Regions from separate parts of the Homo sapiens genome. Here regions 1, 2 and 3 are each linked to region 4. Evidence: promoter capture Hi-C in 16 types of primary human blood cells and fetal thymus (Javierre and others, 2016). All regions are on one chromosome and are shown on one strand. Each heading gives the region's core, a stretch centred on a gene start or on the middle of the fragment in contact. The rest is flanking DNA. Distances are from core to core; before and after follow the strand shown. Region 1 holds the start of PELI2 (pellino E3 ubiquitin protein ligase family member 2). Region 2 overlaps LOC105370502 (a long non-coding RNA gene). Region 3 overlaps GPR137C (G protein-coupled receptor 137C). Region 4 holds the start of CDKN3 (cyclin dependent kinase inhibitor 3).

Region 1 (3,731 bases), core at 99-2,598, 1.7 Mb before region 4:
AACACTAAACCCAAGTTGTTCCTTCCCCCCAGTTTCCTGCACTTCCCCCTTCCCCCTCCCCTTTCACTGCCCACTATATCCAGTTTTAAGCCCGCAAAGCCTCTCTCCTGGCTTATTAAGGGTAAACAATAGAAATGTCACAAGGAAACTCAGGAAGTAGATGAAGTCTCTAATTGCTGCCGTTTAACGATTGTACATAATTACTATCTTCAAGATGCGGCTTTCACCAGCAGAGAGGGAGCCGAGGCGGGCGAGGCTGGCGAGCTCCCCGCAGCCGGGAGGGCATCAGCGAGGCCGGGACCGGGGGGATACGGCCCGCGCCCCGGTGCCAGGCCCCGAGCAGCCGCATCCTGTCCCTCCCCTCCAGAGCACTCCAAGCGGGGAGAAGCGGAGGGCCGGCCGGCCCGGGTCACACACAGTTCACTGCTCTCGGGCTGCGGCGGCCCGCGGCGGTCATCGGAACAATTTGCAAAGCGCAGCCGGGGATCCCACAGCCCGCGGCGGCCCAAGCTCACGGCGCCGCGCTCGGAGTTCGGGGGCGCGGGTACCACGGTCCGCGAGGGAGGTGGGAAGACGGGGCTCCGCGCCGGCCGGCCTCTCAGCTTCGGGAAGCGACCCCGCGAAGCGCCCGCGACCGCGGCGCCTCACATGGAGTCCCTGCCCGCCCTCCCCGGCCCGGACGCGGCGCGCGGGAAGTGGAGCCCCTGCCCCCGCCCCCACGATACGGCCGCGGACCCGGTGCCCGGCGCTGCCCCCGCTGGGTCGCCCGAGTTCTGGCCACTTCCTCCGCCGCGTCCTCCGCGCGGACAGCGCAGCCCGGCGTCCGCCGCAGCACCCCGAGCGCGCGCCGATGGGGCGCATCCCGCCCCCGCGCCGCCGTCCGGGCCCTGAGAGCCTCTCCTGCCGCCCCGAGCGCCCCGGCGGTCCCCAAAGAGCACCGAGCCACCCCGCCAGCCCCGCTCCAGGATGCGGGCGCTCCCCGCCCGCGCCGCTGCCCGGGACCAGGGACCCCAGGACTCACCCGAGCACCACCAGCTCCCCGTATTTCACTGGCTCCTTATTGGGGGCGCAGTGTTCCTCCTGGCCAGGGGAAAACATGGAGCCCCGCTCGGCCGCCGACGCCGCCGCCGACGCCGCCGCCTCCGCCGCGATCCCCGCCGAGTCCGCGCCGCCGCTACAATCCCATCCCGAGAACGGGGTGAGCGCGCCGGGGAAGGGCACGGCGGCGAAGGGGGCGCGGGGCGGCCAGTCCCGCTGCTGCTCCGTCGTGGCTGCGCGGCTGCTCCGCCTGACTCCCCGGAGCTCCGCGCGCCGCGGCCGCCCCGAGTCAGAGCCGGCAACAAATGGGACCCGGCAGCAGGGGGACCTGCCTGCGCTGAGCGCCGCCGCCGAAGCCCCGCGGGAGGGAGGGAAGGAGGAGGGAGCGGGCGCACGAGAGGCTGGGGCCGCGCGGGGGAGGCGGGGGCCAGCGCGCGGGCAGGTGGGAGCCGCCCCGCCCCACGCAGAGCCAGGCGCCCGCCCCCGGCCCGCGGGGCGCCCCCTCCCCCGGCGCGTGGGGCCGTCCGCGCCCACTCCCCGCCCCCCTCGGCCCGGCGGAGGCTCGGCCCCTGTGTTATGTAAACATAGAGTAAAAGGGAAAGGAAGTTCTTAAAGGAGCAGCTCTGTTTTTTTTCCTCACTTCCTTCCCCAAACTTAGAGCGCGGGGTCCTCAGCCCTCGCCGCCTGGTTCTTCAGCCGCGAAGGCCCGCGGGAGATCCTGGAAACGAGCGGCCGCGGTTCCCAAGCCCACGTTTTCCTGGCTGGAGTTCGATGGGATTAACTTCCTCTCCGAGTAGAATAGCGCTCTCTCGACGTCACTGTGTCCCGGCTTACAACTAGAGGTGTCGCACACACCCACTTGGGTGCCTCCCCTTCCAAAACCAAGCAGAAAGGCGTCTAGAAAATTAGAAGGTTTTGCCAGTTGGTGCTGGCGTAGAGGACGTTTCGAAGGCGCTTGGAGCACCCCACCGTTGCACTGGATGTAGCTACCCCGGCTTGTGGTCAATAGAGCTCCACCTGGCTTTTGGGGGGTGGCGGGGGGATGGGGGAAGAGTTGTTTTTTAATCCATACTTTATCCACTTTTCCTGTGCCTTCTTTCCATCCCCTAATACATACAAGGGGAAATTACCTGGGTGGACTTTTTAGTGAACGTAAATGTTCCTTTATGACCGTGATTTAATCAATGCACTGTTTGCTTTCTATTCTTTTTAAACTAGTTATTGCTATGGCTTTAAAATATCGTAGACTGTATAGTTTTACTGACTGCTGTTTTTCATCATACAGGATTTTATTGTTCTAACATTTATTAAGCACTCATAATGTGCTAGAAACTCTACATATTATTGCGAGTCATTGCCTCTCAACACTGTTAAATATTTAAAGAAATAAATACTGCAGAAGCTACCCTGTGTATAGTGACTGGTTGGCTATGACCCGAAGCAAAGGGCTAGAAAAAATAATAATTGCATCTGTAACCTTCCATTCCGCTGTGCTGCACCCCTTGTGTAACATTCTCTGACAGGTTATTACGGTAGTGACATGATGTTTCTGATAATTTTACTTCAGTTAGGAACTGATTTTTTTAATTGAGGTTTTAGAAATAAATTATTCCAAAGTAACTAAAGCCACACCACTGGTAAGCCAAAAATAAACTTTATTAAACAGTTAACTTATTTCAGCTAACTATAGAAATTCTGTATTTCAAATGAATATTAGTTATTCTGCATATATTACGTATTCTCTATATTTTTTATATGTAATAAAAAATCTGTTACAGTTTTAACCAGCACTCCTTCACTAAAGGGATAAATCATGTCTCCTCCCCAGTGTTGATGTAAATTTCTTTCAAATTTCTGCTGGATTAATGTTGTCTTCATGTACTCTGTGCATCTACTTACCACATAGATTGTATGACTATCAAAGATCTGTCAGAATCATTCTGCAGTTGCGCCGTCACGATTACGATGATGCCTGCCTCTGTCACCCTAGCTTCTCTAGGCCTCCTCTGTTGCTGCTTCTGCTCTCTAGGCTACCATTACCTCCTTCCTTCTCTCTTGGCCTGCTGTGCCTGTGTGCGTTGCATTGCATTATACTGTTCTGGCTGCATTTCCTCCTTGCTGTGCTTCGCATCTGCTCTTAGGAAGATAGAAAGAAATATGTATTAACCTCCTACTAAGTTCCCAGCACTAGGCTGAGAGTTTCCCATAGGATATCCCAATCTTCCAAGGCCCCCCCGTCTAGCTATCTGCCTGTGGCACCCCTGACTTCCAGAGGGACATGTCTCTCTACTCTCCCAACATGTCTTTGAGAATGTTTATAGTACTTAATCAGGTCTGTCTTTATCAGACTGACTTACAGGAAGTGTTGTTGTGAATGAGTTTTTGTGTCAATGGAGGCTTTTTATCCTAGGCAGCTCAAGGCTAGATCAGCTCTGTGAATCACTCTGAGCCCTGAAAGCTTCTGACTGGTAAGAGCAATTCTATTGATCACAGTCAAGAATACATACAGGGACCAGGCATGGAAATCCAAATGAGCAAATGGGCTGAGTGAGGACTGTGGCACATTGGTAGGGTCTGTGCCGTCTACAGGGCTTATCTGTCACTCATCTCTAGCTGATTGTTGCCATGTGACAATGACAGTTCACTCTTGCTAGATGTAATTTTTCTAAAAGCCTCAAATCCTGATTACACCA
Region 2 (3,415 bases), core at 442-2,941, 1.2 Mb after region 4:
GCCTAACCTTGACCAAAGAACATCCATGTACCTTACATATAGTTAAAGCTATCAAATTGGATGAGATCTGGTCTATTACTAGCCCCTTACACATGGCAAAGGGAAAAATCAATCATTATGTTCTACAGCAACACCCACATAGTGTGTGTGTTTCCCCATGAGGATACAGTCTACCTCTATCTATGAAGCAGTAGAAAGAACACTCAGCAAGGAGTTGGGAAACATGGTTTCTGTTTCCAGCTCCTACATTACAATGTGACCCTAGGCAACTCATTTAAGCTCTCAGAGGCCTCTGATGTGAAAAGGCTGGATTGTGTGATCTCTATGGTTATTTCCAGCACTGGAATGGGAATTCCCTTTGAACCCTATTTCCTGATTCATTATCCAGCCCTTTTCCTCCCTTCGGTGACCCCCGTTGGCCTCCAAGGTGCCAATTAGCAGTTCAACTTGAGAAGGAGAAAAAGGAAAGTAAAAAATGTTTGCTCTATGCTGGTTATTATGACAAGAAAATATATAAATGGGAAAAACTAACATTATTAAAGTTGTTTGGACCTGGAGGTTTTGGTTCATATGGATTCACTCTATCACAGAAGATCACAGACAATGTAAATTCAGCTACACTCCAAGAAAGACCATTTAAACTAGGCTTATTTAAAGGCAAATAGGGATGTCCCTATGCTTCAGTCTTCCCATGCATTTCTACAGAAATCTTCTAGTTATAACATTCCAATTATAAAAAAAAGTGTTCAGCCAACTTCATAATTTAATTTTCAGAAAAATAAATAAATACAACCAAACACAAAGCTTTTTCTTTAAATGTAATTAATGATCCAATGACCTAAAAGGGAAAGATTAAGCTTTCCGGAACAATAAAAATACATGGATCTGAGCAAAATTTGGGGGAAATTCCTAGTATAGTCAGCTTACTATGTTCAACTTACTTTAAGTTCAAGCCATGACAAACTTCACAGAATGCTACAAATGACCTTTCCTCTGATTTGGGGGATACTTTTTCAATGGTGTGCAATGCTCCTTCCTCTCTTCTCTGTATGGAAAATGCTTGCATCCAGTGTTCTCAAACTTGGGTGATGTGTATCATAATCCCCCCCCACCCTCCCCCCCATGGTGGGCATGTTAAAAAAAAAATACAAAACAGATGGCTGGTCCCTACCCTCAGTTTGTAATTCATTAAGTCTGGAAAGGGCCCAACAAATGGCATTTCTAACATGTTCTCAGGGGATGCAGATGCTGCTGGCCAGGAATCACATTTTAGGAACCACCAGTCCTATGCCTACTTCTATTTGAAAAACTCAGCTCAAATCCCACTCCCTGAGTGAAGATGGGGTAGAGAAGGGAGGGGTATCCCCTGTTCCTTCTCCTCCCAAAAGGCTATCAATAGCTCCATAGCACAGCTGTTTTACATCTCTGGTCCCAATCTGCTCACCAGATCTGTTTCTACCCCACCTCCACCCCACTCCTTTGCAACTTACTTGAAAGGGAGGCCCAAATCTTATTCCTACTTTTATGTTTCTCAGTATCTACAACAGTGTCCACTCCCACCAGATACTTAATAAATGGACCCCCCCTACACACACACAAAATACACAAATGAACAGAAAAATGACTATGAAAGCACTTTTAAAGTCAAAGTGCTATGAAAAACATGTTGCAAATGAATCTGCAACCTAGTTACAATACAGACTTGCTTGTTTGTTTGTTTTTTGAAACGGAGTCTCACTCTCACCCAGGCTGGAGTGCAGTGGTACAATCTCAGCTCTCTGCAACCTCTGCTCCCAGGCTCAAGCAATTCTCCTGCCTTAGCCTACTGAGTAGCTGGGATTACAGGCACCCGCCACCACGCCTGGCTAATTTTTGTATTTTTTTTTAGTAGAGTCGGGGTTTCACCATGTTGGCCAGGCTGCTCTCGAACTCCTGACCTCAAGCAATCTGCCCACCTCAGCCTCCCAAAGTTCTGGGATTACAGGTGTCAGCTACCTTACCTCACCTTAAAATGCAGACTTTGATTCAGAAAGTCTAAGGTGGGGCCTGAGAGTTTGTATTTTTAATAAGCTGTAGGTGAGGCTAACACTGTCTATGGCCCACACTCTAAGTTGCAAGGTTTTATACTGGTGGTTCCCAGCTTTGACTATACATTAGAATTTCCCCATGGATCTCTGAGAATATAGAGTCTGATCCACTTCCCAAATTAAATCAGAATCTCCGAGTGTGAGACCCAGACATCAGTATTTTTAAAATGTTCCTCAGTAATTCTAATGCACAGCCAGGGCTGAGAATAGTTGATCTCTAAGTAATCACACATGATATATTCAAATTACCTTAAAATCTAAACTATGTGTTCCAAACATGAGAGTTTTCTATTATTTATGATTGCATTAATGTTGATTATACCAAATATATCATTTTATTCTCTTCAAATCACTTACTTATTGTAAAATAATGTCTTTACCCAGCATTATCTAAACAGCCAGAAAAGAAACTTCTAACAGCTTTTAAAATAAAGCTTTACTTAATATTTAAAGTTTACTTAATGTTTACTTGAATTTTCTCAACTTACTACCATCTTTAAAAAAAAAAGATCAGTAACTGTTTTATACAATAATTATGATATATATTTTTCTTAGAAATAGGCCAATGTACCTCCCAAAGAAAGTGCCCTCAACATTAAGGATGCCAAGTGTCAGATGTCACAGCATGTGGTCCTAAAAAGCTGACTTCCAGAGTGCTCCATTGTTTTTTGTTGTTTGTTTGTTTTGAGACAGAATTTCGCTCGTTGCCCAGACTGGAGTGCAATGGCGCGAACTCGGCTCACTGCAGCCTCCGCCTCCCAAGTTCAAACAATTCTCCTGCCTCAGCCTCCTGAAAGTAGCTGGGATTACAGGCACCCGCCACCACACCCAGCTAATTTTTGTATTTTTAGTAGAGACGGGTTTTCACCATGTTGGCCAGGCTGGTCTCGAACTCCTGACCTGAGGTGATCCACCCACCCCAGCCTCCCAAAATGCTGGGATTACAGGCATGAACCACCGTGCCCGGTTTCCGTTGTTTTTATAGTCTGTCTTAAAGAAGCAGAGTCAGGTGACTTTAAAAAAATCTATTTTAAGAAAAATTATCAAATAAAAATCCACAGCTACACAGAAGATATATTAGAGAGTGTTCTTTCAAACAAAATAAAGATCTTAATAGCATACCTTTAACTTATAAGTAAGTCACCAGAGTTCCTATAAAATATAATCCAGTCTTCTACTCAATTTCTACCAACTCTTCACAAAGACATCTGTGCCATAATGTAAGGAATGTTTATAGGGTTAACTTTGATCTTGGTGTTTAAAAAAGCAGCCCAGATAATACAAAACTTTCTAGACTTGGAGTGATCTGTTTTAACATTGTACTAGAA
Region 3 (3,502 bases), core at 1,003-3,502, 1.8 Mb after region 4:
GCCAGAAGTTCAAAATGTGTTTTTAGATTAGTGTACAAGGTGGCTTTTCTTTTTTTTTTCCCCCTCTCTCTCAACTATAGGCTTCCAGGAGGTTAAGTATGAGACACTGAGAAGCTTAACTGTTTAAGAAAGGGCTACTTTCCCTCATCTCAATTCCATTCAAGTGTAGACACCAAGAAAAAAAAAAAAAGAAAAAAGGGGTTGAGGCATTTCTTAACTTTTCAAAAACATGAGTTTTAGAATATCCACCAAAATGTATTCAAAGTAGTAGAGTTTGTTTTACTTTTTATACTGATCCACGATTCTTTATAACTAAGTCCTTAAAGCTACTCTTAGTGAGAATCAGAAAAAAACAAATGCTTTAAACAAGTGAAAAGTAATATGGAATTGGTATTTAATACGGCATACAGCAAAGACAGAGTGAGTTGGTAATCAAGACACACGACTATTCAAAAAAGTTATAGGGGCTTTTGGTTAAAAAAATTAAACATCAGTTAAGTCTTATATTTATCACCACATAGGCTTTCCCTACCACTTTGCTATAATATGAAGAACTCACTAGGAAAAACTTCATTAATTCAGAATGATCAATGGGAAGTATACTTGCAGTTATCTGGAACTGACATAAAAATTTGAACTAAAATACTCTCTTAAATACAGGTTCCTGGAGATTTTCTCTAATGAAAAGAGAAATGATTTCTGGTTAAGATATCTCCTTTCAAACAGGCTTTCAAAAAATTGACAATTTGTTCTCTTAAGTACAACTGTGTCCTAAAATTGTTAATTTCATTATAAAAAGAAAGGATAGACAAACAACTCACACTCTTTTTAGCAGGCATTACAAAGGAAAAAAGCTTTATCCCAGCTTCTTTCCAAATTGTATTTTTCAGGTTAATAGAGTTTTATCGTTTTTAAAAAAGCATATTACACAAACATTTAACAGGAAGACTTTCAGATTTTAAATTCTTCCTCACTAGCTTGGAATATTAGCTCAAAGTCTGAAGACCCAATCTAGATACTCCGTGTATTCTATGCTATATAAGCATACCTTCAGAATTTTGAGCTTAAATATATCTCCTTTTTTGGATAGTGTTTACCCACTTTGTGCTTACCTGGGGGAGCTACTGACTGGGAGAGGGTAAAAAGGGAAACTTCTGGGACACGGAAAATGCTTTATATCTTAATCTGGGTGGTGGTAACATGGGTGTATACAGATATAAAATTTCATCTAGGTGTGCATTTAAGATTGTGGACTTTATTGTATATGTTATACCTCAAGAAGTAAAAAGAGTGTTTACCCACTTTATGAAATGCCTACCAACTATTTTACAGTGAATCATTCATATTATTTTGTAAATCAAAATATATAGGGAAAAAACAAGTCATCTGATGCCCCTGGCATAAAAATCGCTAGTCACTTTCAGGTAAACATCTGAACCTGGAGTAAAAGCTTCAGCGTTGAGAAGTCACTAACGCACTATCTGAAATGGTGGCAGGAAGATTACAATGTATCAGTTTAAGTATAAAGGGTAGAAGTGTTATAACAGCTTAAACGACAACTAGATTAGAACACCCTCAAATAAGTGACACGACTATGGCATCATTTGATTTGTGATAACCTATGCTTCTTATTTCCGCTTACTGGTTTGCGTTTTTGTCATTGTATTGTTTGGACTTTCAAAGGATGGAGAAGGAAAATAATAAAAGTTAAATTAGTTTTGTTGTTTTCAACTATTGTTTTTAGTGTGCTAAATAGCTGACATTATGACTGATTATAAAATTATGCATTCTACTTCCTATTAAAGGAGAAAAGAGTTGGTTTATGCAGGAAATATAAACACTTAATATACGTCATTTTTTTTTTTTTTACTTTTGCTTGGAACTACATTAATTCCATCACCTCCAAAAAAGCCTTTGAGAGGATTAGCTGCATAGGCCAATATTATTCTATATTAGTCTGTATTAAGCATATGATGTCACCTTGCTTCCTCCCCTCCTCAAGCTTTTCTTTTGGTGGGAAGGAGGACTTTTTTGGGGGAAAGTCTTAAAATATTATGGCTTAAATACCACAAGCTGACACACATGATTGACAACCTTACACTCCCAAACCTGTTTGAAATGGGTCAAATACCTAAGCGCTGCAGAACAATGCAATCCAACCAGCAATTCCCCATAAAAGAGAAAGGGGGTGTGATTAGGTTCCAGATATTAAGCAAGTTATTGCAAAAACAGTTTGGTGGTTTTGTTTCTGCAATAGGCACAGGTTAAGCTAGTATTTTTTTCTCTTAATTAGCTCCAAAAAAGACTATGCTAATAGGAGGTAGGATAAACCGCTAAAGCACGAAGCAACTGGGGCAAACATTAAGGGCTTTATGGAGGTCCTTATCCTGATCCTCAGCATTGGTTATTGATCATCAACCCTGCTGGGGAACTATCGAACGAAATTTATGTGAGGCTTATCGAGCCACAGGAAAGGAGATGCAGGAGGGAATATAAGCTTCTAATAAAAGAAACGCAGCAACAATAGCAGAGGAACAGCTCTGCCTGGTGACGTAATGGCTGGCAGCAGTCCAGCTTCAGCAGAGCTGCTGCTACCTCAGCATCCAACCTCCCTCAACACAGTCCGGCTTCGGCAGAGCCACCGGGGCTGCTACTTCTTGCGATGCCACTTTGTTGGTGCCACCAACGCCTTACCTCGGAGGGCCAGAACACCGAACAAAGGGTTCGTTCCGTTGCTGTTTTAAGTTGTCAGACACACACACTCACTCACTCACCCCCTAGCCCGAACCCCTCAGTAATCAAGCCAATCAGCCACTTAAGTTTAAGGCGAAAACACTGGCTCACACTCCAGGTGTGCCTCAGTTTCCCCAGGCTGGTTTCCAGTCCGCCTCTCGCTGCCCACCCCCCGCCCCCGCTGGTCCTCAGCGGGAGTTGATCCCGGCGGCCCCGCGCACCCGCCCGGGCCCCGCATGCCGGCCCTCCCGCCTTACCTCCGCCAGGTAGAGGTTGAGGAGACAGAGCGTGGAGAACTGGAGACAGGAGGGGAAGCAGTAGAGCAGCCAGTGGGGGAAGAAGTGCAGGTGAGCGGGCGGCCGGAGCAAGGGCAGGGAGCCGCTGAGCGAGAAGGCGGCGGAGAAGAGGGTGGTCCTGAGCGCTGCCCACAGGAGACAGAGGAAGAGGCAGAGGCTCTGGTAACTCAGCCGCCGCTCGCGGTACAGGAGCAGCCGCCACAGCTGCAGGTAGGCAAAGGCGAACAGCGCGGCGTAGAGCAGGGCGTGCAGGACGCTCAGCGCCAACTGCACGGAGCCCGGCACCGCGGCGCCTGAGGCTGCAGCGACGGCGCCTCCGCCTCCGCTGCCCCCGCCGGGCGTGGAGGGCTCGCGGCCGGCTGCGGGGGCGGCAGCGGCCGCCGGACCCGGCACGGACACCCTCATGAGGGGGCTGGGGGCCGGGCGAGCGAGCGCGGGAAGGAAGGGGCTGGACTCGGAGCCGCCGTCGAAGG
Region 4 (3,586 bases), core at 534-3,033:
GACTAGAGAGATTGAGATAGACTTCGTATGCTGATCTAAGCAGTTGGAACTTAATCCTGCAGCATTTTGACATGGAAGACTTCTACACTCCTTGTTGAAATTTTAAGGAATCAAAAGAAAAAGAAAAACAAAAACAAAACAGAACAAAACCCATACCCTTTTCTCACTCCCTAGTTGAAACCAATTGAAAGATAAAGAAATGGAGTTTTATTATTGTATATCAAATGGAGTATGCAGCTTAAAGCTGTTGCCACGTGGGCTTGCCCCTTGTTCACCCCAGAATTAGACAAATGTATCCACCCAGTCACAGGTGGCCATGGACAGTCTGGGGCTCCTGTGTGCCAGAGAGTGGACCAGAAAGCACCTTCTGCAGGCAGGCAGGTAGATCCCAAGAAAGAAGGAAAGAAAAAGTTGAGATACTGGTGTTCAGTTCCTTCCAAACTCGGGGATCAGATAACTCAATGGGGACAGGTGGAGAAAGAGGCCAGGAGTGAAGGACAGCTGATGTCCCTCCACATGGCAACATAGGGATTAGCAATTGTAAGCACCTAATGCTCTTTCTAGCTCTGAAGCTATATTCTACAACGGTCTTGGTACTAGAAGATCACAGGACGGCTAATTTAGGCTACGGACTTTTTTTTCTTTCTTTCTTTTATCTTGAGATAGGGTTTTGCTCTGTCGCCCAGGCTGGAGGGCAGTGGCGTGATATCCGCTCACTGCAACCTCTGCCTCTTGGGTTCAAGCTATTTGCGTGGCTCAGCCTCCCGAGTAGCTGGGACTACAGGCGTGCACTACCACGCTCAGCTAATGTTTGTATTTTTAGTAGAGACGGGGTTTCACCGTGTTGGCTAGGCTTGTCTCCAACTCCTGGCCTCAAGTGATCCGCCCGCCTTGGCCTCCCAAAGTGTTGGGATTACAGGCGCGAGACACCACCCGGCCCTAGGCTATGGATTTCTGTTGCTTTGGCTCTATCTGAAGTATTATAATCAACTGCACCCAAAGGAAAGGCTTCCAGTAGGTTGTCAAGCCGGGCAGTAGGAAATATGGGTTAGGTGGGGGATCTTCAGCTCCTTGCCTGCATCTGTTTTTTCTTTAAAGCAACTTTGATGATTCATATTTCAAATTTGTGTGGCCCATTCACCAGGTTTATTAATCCTAACAGAGCTGGACGTTTCTGCTTCCCCAGGCCCTGTGATTCTGAACGTCACGGGAAAAGAGCAGCATTGCCAGGTGGCCCTGGGGCATGGTGACAGCGGTGGTGTCGCCCACAAGCCGCGGCGTGGCATTCGTACTCAAGGTTTCCCCAGGCCCTGTGGGCGCAGGTAGCGCCCGGCCACCCTTCGGGGCTGGGGTATCGCGCCCACTCATCGCTGACACTCAAGCTCTTCGGCTCGGTTTCCTCGGTACAACGAGGCTCGGCCCTCTTTGGCTGGGCGGCTGGGAGGCTTATGAGACCCCGCAGGGGACAGGTGACAGCCCACAGCAGGTGCACAGCGAATGTCCGTCTTTCCTTCGTCGGCCACCGACCCTGCTCCTTCGTCTCTCGTGCCCGTGCTGGGCCCGTGCGAGTCACCTCCCCGACCCGCAGAACGGTTACGGCGCCAGTCGCACTGCTACCAGGCTAGGGCTGCCCTCCGGCCCAGGATCGGGTCCCCGGGACCGCTTGCGTCCCTGCCGCCTCGCTCCTCCAAACCCCAGCACGTCCGACTCACCGGCTTCATCGCTGGCCGCCCCACGTCGAGACCAGTGCCGCCTCCCTCTGCAGCGCCGGCGACTCACCGGTGCCCCGGCCGAGCCCGCGCCCCGCAGCTTAGCTCACTGGTTCGTCCTTCTGTGAGGTGGGCGCGGCGTCTTCCAGCAACCAATCAGATCCGCTTCTGGTTTCTTACTCCGCCTTTGGGTGGCCGAAGACTCGGCCTCTAATCGCTGACTGGTTCCTAGAAGACCTTTGAAAGACGCGCGGGAGGCGGGCCCTGTGGGACGTTGATTGGCTGGGAGGGCGCCCTCCTCCCGCCAGTTGGGAGAGTGCAGGGGGCGGAGGCGGGGCGGAAGAGTCAGAAGGCGGCCCTAGCGCTTGGGGGACGCTGGAAAGCTTTGCTTCTTGATGGCAGGATGTCAGCGTGGTCCATACGGTTGGGAGGTGATTTTTTTTTTTTTCTTGAGACGGAGTTCGCTCTTGTTGCCCAGGCTGGAGTGCAATGGCGCGATCTCGGCTCACCGCCACCTCCGCCTCCCGGATTCAAGCGAGTCTCCGCCTCACCCTCCCGAGTAGCTGGGATTACAAGGATGTGCCACCAAGCCTGACTAATTTTTGTATTTTTTGTAGAGACGGGGTTTCTCCATGTTGGTCAGGCTGGTCTCGAACCCGGGTTGGGAGTTTTTGTGTTTGTGACGGAAGTCTTACTATGTTGCCCAGGCTGGCCTCGAACTCCTGTCCTCAAGCAATCCTCCCGCCTTAGCCTCCCTTGTAGCGGCTACGGTAGGGAGTTTTTGTTTCTTTAAGTTGTATTTTTATTTTTTATTTTTTAAGGGCTCAGGGAAGCACTGTATTGGATCGTCACATGAAAAACATCACATAGACTTTGTAATTATATCTAGACATACAAATACTAGGGAAAAAACTAAAAATTTAGAGTATAAACATATTTTATATGCTTGAAGTTTTAGTTTATCGTTCCAGAAACTAGACAAGTTACAGTGTAGATCAATATTCCTGTCCCCCAAATATGAATTAAATTATATTGTGTGAAAGGGAAATTATAAAATGCCAGGTAAGATAGGTCTAAGGGCCAGTGTGTCTACATAATTAGCTGTAATCTTTTAAAAATGTGAGTATTTCTCCGCCTTCTCCAGTCCCCATTTAACTAGCCATGGGAAAGGAAGTCGCCTGGAGCAGATCTGAGAAAAATATGCAGAAATTTCAACCCCTGATTCATGTTGTGAAAGCCAATGGGTATAGAGCTATTAGAAGGAATTCCTTAGTAAAGAAGGTACCACAGTTTGATTTAGAGACTGTATTAGCTAGTCATGGTTGCCCAGAGATAAAGAATGAATAGGATGTGTATATATGGATATAGAAACAGATTTATTTTAAGGAATTGGCTCCTGTGCTTGTGGAAGCTTGGAGAGTCCAAAATCTGATGGGGGGAGGCCAGTGCGCTGGAGACTCAGGAAAGGCTGTACTTCGAGTCCAAAAGCTGTTGTAGAACAAAGAAGAGCCAATATTGCATGTAAAGTCTGAAGGCTGTCTACTGGCAGAATTACCCCTTGCACAGGGCAGGGTCAGCCTTTTGTTGTATTCAGCTCGTCAACTGATTGGATGAGGCCCATCCATATTATGGATGGCAGTCTGCTTTACTCAACGTTTCCCAATTTAATGCAAATCTCATCCAAAAACACTTTCACAGAAACATCCAGAATAATGTTTGTCCAAATAACTGGGCACCATGGCCCAGTCAAGCTGATGCACAAAATTAACCATCCTAGACACCCACAGAGATTTTCCATACTCGGGAAATCCTTTTAGATCTGTGCTGTTCAATATGGTGACCATATTGGCTGATTATCTCAGGCCAAATTAGAAAAC

The links. Contacts are between HindIII fragments. The CHiCAGO score rates a contact against its expected background, and 5 or more counts as called.
Region 1: a contact is called between the fragment with the promoter of PELI2 here and the fragment with the promoter of CDKN3 in region 4, in 2 of 17 cell types (total CD8 T cells and non-activated CD4 T cells). The highest score is 6.1, in total CD8 T cells.
Region 2: a contact is called between a fragment that was not itself captured here and the fragment with the promoter of CDKN3 in region 4, in 1 of 17 cell types (M1 macrophages). The highest score is 5.9, in M1 macrophages.
Region 3: a contact is called between a fragment that was not itself captured here and the fragment with the promoter of CDKN3 in region 4, in 1 of 17 cell types (fetal thymus). The highest score is 7.8, in fetal thymus.

What each region holds. Positions count from the first base shown.
Region 1 is chr14:56,116,028-56,119,758 of GRCh38, reverse strand. It overlaps PELI2 (pellino E3 ubiquitin protein ligase family member 2), which reads right to left and starts at 1,348. Exons shown (of 6, transcript NM_021255.3): 1 at 1,022-1,348. The coding sequence starts at 1,098. RefSeq lists silencers at 871-940, 1,231-1,490, 1,531-1,590 and an enhancer at 1,721-1,960. The HindIII fragment of the contact is 3,737 bases long and covers 1-3,498 here.
Region 2 is chr14:53,210,834-53,214,248 of GRCh38, reverse strand. All of the region lies in intron 5 of LOC105370502 (a long non-coding RNA gene), which reads right to left. Among named protein-coding and RNA genes, the nearest start is that of DDHD1-DT, 59 kb to the right of the region's middle. The HindIII fragment of the contact is 1,664 bases long and covers 860-2,523 here.
Region 3 is chr14:52,553,080-52,556,581 of GRCh38, reverse strand. GPR137C (G protein-coupled receptor 137C) reads right to left here. Exons shown (of 7, transcript NM_001099652.2): 1 at 2,991-3,502. The coding sequence starts at 3,434. Among named protein-coding and RNA genes, the nearest start is that of GPR137C, 2.0 kb to the right of the region's middle. RefSeq lists silencers at 3,277-3,476, 3,487-3,502. The HindIII fragment of the contact is 495 bases long and covers 2,005-2,499 here.
Region 4 is chr14:54,395,204-54,398,789 of GRCh38, reverse strand. It overlaps CDKN3 (cyclin dependent kinase inhibitor 3), which reads right to left and starts at 1,783. Exons shown (of 8, transcript NM_005192.4): 1 at 1,713-1,783. The coding sequence starts at 1,721. The HindIII fragment of the contact is 7,211 bases long and covers 1-2,094 here.